2 separate regions of the Homo sapiens genome follow, and region 1 is linked to region 2. Evidence: promoter capture Hi-C in human tissues and cell types (Jung and others, 2019). All regions are on one chromosome and are shown on one strand. Each heading gives the region's core, a stretch centred on a gene start or on the middle of the fragment in contact. The rest is flanking DNA. Distances are from core to core; before and after follow the strand shown.

Region 1 (2,839 bases), core at 332-2,831, 360 kb before region 2:
GAAGAGGTCAAAATATGGATTACTCTGGCAAGAATATTTAGAGATAGATGTGGTGTGAACAGACCTTTGAATAGCAAATTGTTGGTTCATTCGTTTGTTCAAATAATTATCTCCCAGGTGCCAAGTGAATAAAGTACAGTAGTGAAGAGCTTAGGCTTTGGAATCAAACAGAACTGAGTTCAAATCCCTACTCCATCACTTTTTTTTTTTTTTTTGAGACAGAGTTTCACTCTTGTTGCCCAGGCTAGAATGCAATGGCACGATCTTGGCTCACCACAACCTCCACCTCCCAGGTTCAAGCGATTCTCCTGCCTCAGCCTCCTGAGTAGCTGGGGTTACAGGCATGCACCACCACGCCCGGCTAATTTTTATGTTTTTAATAGAGACAGGGTTTCTGTATGTTAGTCAGGCTGGTCTCGAACTCCCAACCTCAGGTGATCCACCTGCCTTGGCCTCCCAAAGTTCTGGGATTACAGGCATGAGCCACCATGCCTGGTCCTATCACTTTTAATTAACCTTAGTTCAGAGGTACATCATCTCTAAAATAGAGTTGTGCTCAGGATTAAATTATATAAAGTGCTTGGGTCAATGTCTCACACACAATAGGCAGTCAGTTCATTGTAGCTGTCATGATAACTGCTGTTACTGCTGCTCACAAGGAACTCAGTCTGGTGCCGTGGGAAACCTTGCAAAGTACAACCCAAGGAATCTGAACACGTTATGAGAGTACAGAGTAGGGAGCAACCAGCCTTATCTATAAAAACTGGGGAGGTCAAAAGAAATAAAGATGATTTTCTTAGATACTTGTTCATGTATATTAGAATATTTATAGTATTTAACTATGACATTAACCTTTGCTGGAGACAATATTTGGCATTTTCATAAAAGGGCTGCCATGTTGAAGATCCATTGTCTCACCCTTCAGTTTGCCTTCATCAACATCCACAAGGACAAGTTCATCACTCAAACCCTGAAAAACATTGTTAGTCCAATGGGTGTGAGTGTATCTCTTGATTAACTGGAGAATGAAAGAAAATTCTTATATTGGTGATCTATGTCTAGCTTGTGAATTATCAAAATCAAAGGAAACATAATAAATGATCTCATCATTTTGTCATGATATAAAAGTCTAAACCAGAAAAAATACAAATTACAAAGAGGAGCATTTCAGCTCATCATGAGGAAAACAAAAACAGAAACTGCTTAGTAAATAGAACAATCTCTGAAAGTAGTGAACACCCCGATTTTCAATTTCAGCTGAGGCTGCACAGTGATAAAGTAGTGCTTCTGCTGAAGGAATTTCTCACCAGACCTTGAGCTTCTTGAGACTAGGAAGTCATTCATCCCCAGCCATCTGGTGCTTACTTATCATCCACCTGGCACAGAGGAGCTCAGTAAAAGTTTTTTGAATAAATGGTATCTTAGTCCATTTTCTGTTCCTTATAACAGAATACATGAAACTGAGTACCTTATAAAGAAAAGGAATTTATTTCTTACAGTTATGGAGGCTGAGAAGTCCAAGGTCAGGGGGCCGCCATATGGTGAGGGCTTTCTTGCTGGAGGAGACTCTGCAGAGTCCCAAGGCAGCACAGGGCATCACATGGCAAGGAGGCTGCGATTGCTAAATTCAGGTCTGTCTTCCTCTTCTTATAAAGCTACCATTCCCACTCCCCTGATAACCCATTCATCCATAGATTAATCCATGGCAGAGCCCTCATGACCCAGTCAACTCTTAAAGGCCCCACCTCTCAATACTGCCACATTGAGGATTAAATTTAAACGAGTTCCAGAGGGGACAAACATTCAAACCACAGCAAATGGATTAAAATATAGGGCTCCTTCCAACTCAAAAATATTTTAGTTCTATAATCAGACAGTTATTACCTACAGAAATCAATTCATACTATAATTTCTATGATGCTACTTTATATGTAAGAAAGGAGAGAAAATATACTTCTATTTGAAAAAAAAAAAACACTAGAAATACAAGAAACTGATTCAAATAATTGCCTAAAGTGGATGCTAAGGAAAGATTGGATGGAAACCAGTATGACTTCTCCATGTATGTTTTTTTGTTTTTGTTTTTGTTTTTTTTTGAGATGGAGTCTCTTGCTCTGTTCCCCAGGCTGGAGTGCAGTGGTGCAATCTCGGCTCACTGCCACCTCCGCTTCCTGGGTTCTAGTGATTCTCCTGCCTCAGCTTCCTGAGTAGCTGGGATTACAGGCATGCACCACCATGCCCAGCTAATTTTTGGGTTTTTTTTGTTTTTTTTTTTGTTTGTTTGTTTGTTTTTTGAGACAGAGTCTTGCTCTGTTGCCCAGGCTGGAGTGCAGTGGCGTGATCTCGGCTCACTGCAAGCTCCGCCTCCCAGGTTCACGCCATTCTCCTGCCTCAGCCTCCCGAGTAGCTGGGACTACAGGCGCCCGCCACCACACCTGGCTAATTTTTTGTATTTTTAGTAGAGACGGGGTTTCACCGTGTTAGCCAGGATGGTCTTGATCTCCTGACCTAGTGATCCGCCCGCCTCTGCCTCCCAAAGTGCTGGGATTACAGGCATGAGACACCGCACCCGGCCAATTTTTTTGTATTTTTAGTAGAGACAGGGTTTCACCATGTTGGCCAGGCTGGTCTCAAACTCCTGACTTCAAGTGATCCACCTGCCCCGGTCTCTCAAAGTGATGGGATTACAGGCACAAGCCTTAATCCGCGCCCGGCCTTGTATGTATCTTTCTGAATTTTACTTTTACTTTTTGTTTCTGAGACAGGGGCTTGCTCTGTCCCCCAGGTAGGAGTACAGTAGCATGATCATGACTCATTGCAGCCTCAACTTTCTCAGGCT
Region 2 (3,116 bases), core at 344-2,843:
CCATTAAATCAAAGTGGGTACTTGTAAATCAATTCCATCATAGGTAATTTTTTTAGTTTAATGTTTACGATTCTTATGGAGAAAGAAGTGTTTTTCATTTACCTTTGCATGGGTGCTTAAAATACACATTTCTATTTCAAGATGACACTGAAAAATTCTTCTAATATAACAGCAGCAAAAATGTAATTCTGCAATTACAAAAGTGCTAAACTGAAATCCATAATTAAGGTTTTCTCATGTTTACAATTGTGGTTCTTTAATCAATACTAATACTATGCAGGTCTGTTGTAAGGTTTCTAGATTCGGTTTAAACACACGCACACAATACTGTCAGTTGTAGGAGGCTTTACAAGTTATATTTCATGCACTTTTTTTTAAAGAGTTCTAAAAGAGCCAACCAGTCCACAAGACAGACAGAAAAAAAGTTAAATTAACTGGAGTAAATTGGACTCTTAACATTCGAAACATGCAAGATTCTGCAGCAAACTGGGAGTACTTCAGGATTGGCCTGCTATCTTCCTTAGTATTAATTTCATCTTAACAGTTTAAGAAGTTGGACATTTTAACACCATCAAGCGCATTTAGGTGACGTGTTTCTTGTGTGTTAACTTGGCTCCCCGGAATGATCTAGTTAGTGAACTAGTCACTAATAATTTGGTCACCAGGCAAATCAAGCCTACACGAAAGGAAGCGACTATTCAAAATACCGTAGTATCATCTGAACCTACCCAAATAATTTATGTTCAACATAAACATGTAACTTCAATAATGAGATGACTCATTAATGAGTCAAGCTCCTCCAACAAGACAAAGACAACATCTCTTCTTCTAAGGTTTAAGTTTTGCATAGAAATCCGGATACATGGAATAGCCCATACCAACAGTCATTGCTCCTACAACAAAGCTGGACTGCCACACGCATGTGGATCAGGTGACGTGATATTTTAGTATTTCCCCTGCTTTTCAATTTGTATAATCCGTATGCAGCAACTACTGCAAAACCTGCCATTCCAATGGGGACAAATGGTGCCTCTTTAGTTTTTCGAATCACTTTGGATCCCTGGAATCCCTCACAAGCCATCCAGCTTCCCCTACGGATATTTTTAGGAATGGCAACAGTGGCCAGAGATCAGAGGATTATATTATTAGGGTTATACAACTTTTATATAAAAAAAGTGGCTTCTGACCAGGCGCGGTGGCTCACGTTTGTAATCCCAACACTTTGGGAGGCCGAGGCAGAAGGATTGCTTGAGCCAGAAGTTCGAGACCAGCCTGGGCAACATAGATCAGAAGGCGAATAGAATAAGTCCGCTAGCTTTGAGATTCACATCTGTTCCTGAGGCTTCCTCACTGCTCCCCACCCTTCCTTCTTCAATCAGTCTAAGAGCTCCTGGAGAAATGGAACACCTGATTCAGTGAGGGTGACAAATAATTATGAGTATGTTCGTGCCAGGGTCCTCGATAGGATGGGGTGGGGGAGGTCAAGCCGCCTTGGCAGCTGGCCAGGCTCCGAACAGCAGATGGCGCTGTAGGGGGAGTCCCACCGGGTACGCCGGGCGCTCTGGCACTAGGGCGCCGGTCGTCTCCTCCGCAGCTTCCGGCACGGCCTTCAAGCGCGGGACGCGACAAAGTCATGGACCGCAACCCCTCGCCGCCGCCGCCGGGTCGCGACAAGGAGGAGGAGGAGGAGGTGGCCGGTGGAGACTGCATAGGGAGCACGGTCTACAGCAAACACTGGCTCTTCGGCGTCCTCAGCGGACTCATCCAGGTGTGGAAACTCGCGCCACGCGTGGGGTGTCCCTACATCCCCCAGGCACCGGGGCTCCGCCTCTGGCGAATCCTCCTGCCCCGGGAGCCGCCATCCCCACAAAGACCCCTCCCCAGGCGTGCGCTGCGGGACCTTGCTCCTTGCGTTTCGCCGGCCGCTGCGGACCCCAAAACTATCTGGGCCCCCTCGGGGTCTCTCGACACAAAGGGAAGTATAATGGTAGGGATGCTGAAATACTTGCCGTTCTATTTTGCTTTCCCAAGTTCTCCAAAAATACATGATCGTGTAACTGCATTCCTCGGGTTTTGCTCCCCATCCCCACTGTCATTTCTGAAGCCCAGGTCCTTAATTTATGTATTTCATGGACTATCGTTGTAATAGAATAAATGGTGACTTTAGGGTTATACAACTTTTATATTAAAAACGTGGCTTCTGACCAGGCGCGGTGGCTCACCTCTGTAATCCCAACACTTTGGGAGGCCGAGGCGGAAGGATCGCTTGAGCCAGGAGTTTGAGACCAGCCTGGGCAACATAGACCTGGTTTCTACAAACTTAAAAAAAAAAAAAAAAAAAAGCCGGTCGTGACGGTGCACGCCTGTAGTCCCAGCGACTCAGGAGGCTGAGGCTGGAGGATCGCTTGAGCCTGAAGTTGGAGGCTGCAGTGAGCTATGATCCAGCTTCTGCACTCCAGGCTGGGGGACGGAGTAAGACCCTGTCTCAAAAAAACAAAAAACGCAGCTTCCTTACCCACTAGCTGCAGGTCACCTAACGGCTCAGAACCTCTATTTGTCCCTTAATTTCTATAAAATGGGATTATAATATTTATATTATATATAAGGTTATTGTGTAGGTTAAGTGAGATTATAATGGCAACAGAGTGCTTAGCATGGTGTTTGGCTTATAGGAGGCTGTCAGTAAATGTGTTTTCTTCCCCCCATGTTTCCCTAATTGGTTCCTCTCCTCCTATTGTCTATCCTCTCCAGTCAATTTTCTACACAGCTGCCAGAATAATCTTCTTTAAAGACAGGGCTATTCATGATACTGCTCTTAGTTCTTTTTGCCTGGGAGAAAAATGCATGTTTCTTGAAGTTTGGAATCCAGGGCTGTTTGTACATTTTCCAGCCTCATCTTCTCATGATACACTGTGTTCCATCAACTCTGAACTGTTCACCATCCCCAAACATGCTAGGCCCTTTCTTAACTCTGAACTCTTGTGCTTTCCTCTGAATACTCACTTCTCTCCTTCTTCACATGACAAACTACTATTCTTCCTTTAAAATTTAGCTTAAATATCAGCACCTAAGGGAAGGTTCCCCATCTTCTCCTAGGAATAGGTCATTGGTCCATC

The links. The method cuts DNA at HindIII sites, captures the fragments that hold promoters and counts their contacts. A contact is called where the count stands out against the background at its distance.
Region 1: a contact is called between a fragment that was not itself captured here and the fragment with the promoter of SAAL1 in region 2, in 1 of the 25 tissues and cell types used here (hippocampus).

Annotation. Positions count from the first base shown.
Region 1 is chr11:18,462,092-18,464,930 of GRCh38, reverse strand. It overlaps LDHAL6A (lactate dehydrogenase A like 6A), which reads right to left. Exons shown (of 7, transcript NM_144972.5): 2 at 853-970. Among named protein-coding and RNA genes, the nearest start is that of LDHAL6A, 7.7 kb to the right of the region's middle. The HindIII fragment of the contact is 8,025 bases long and covers 1-2,839 here.
Region 2 is chr11:18,104,559-18,107,674 of GRCh38, reverse strand. SAAL1 (serum amyloid A like 1) reads left to right here and starts at 1,593. Exons shown (of 12, transcript NM_138421.3): 1 at 1,593-1,768. The coding sequence starts at 1,634. It also overlaps the pseudogene HIGD1AP5. RefSeq lists enhancers at 1,388-1,437, 1,588-1,847. The HindIII fragment of the contact is 11,884 bases long and covers 1-3,116 here.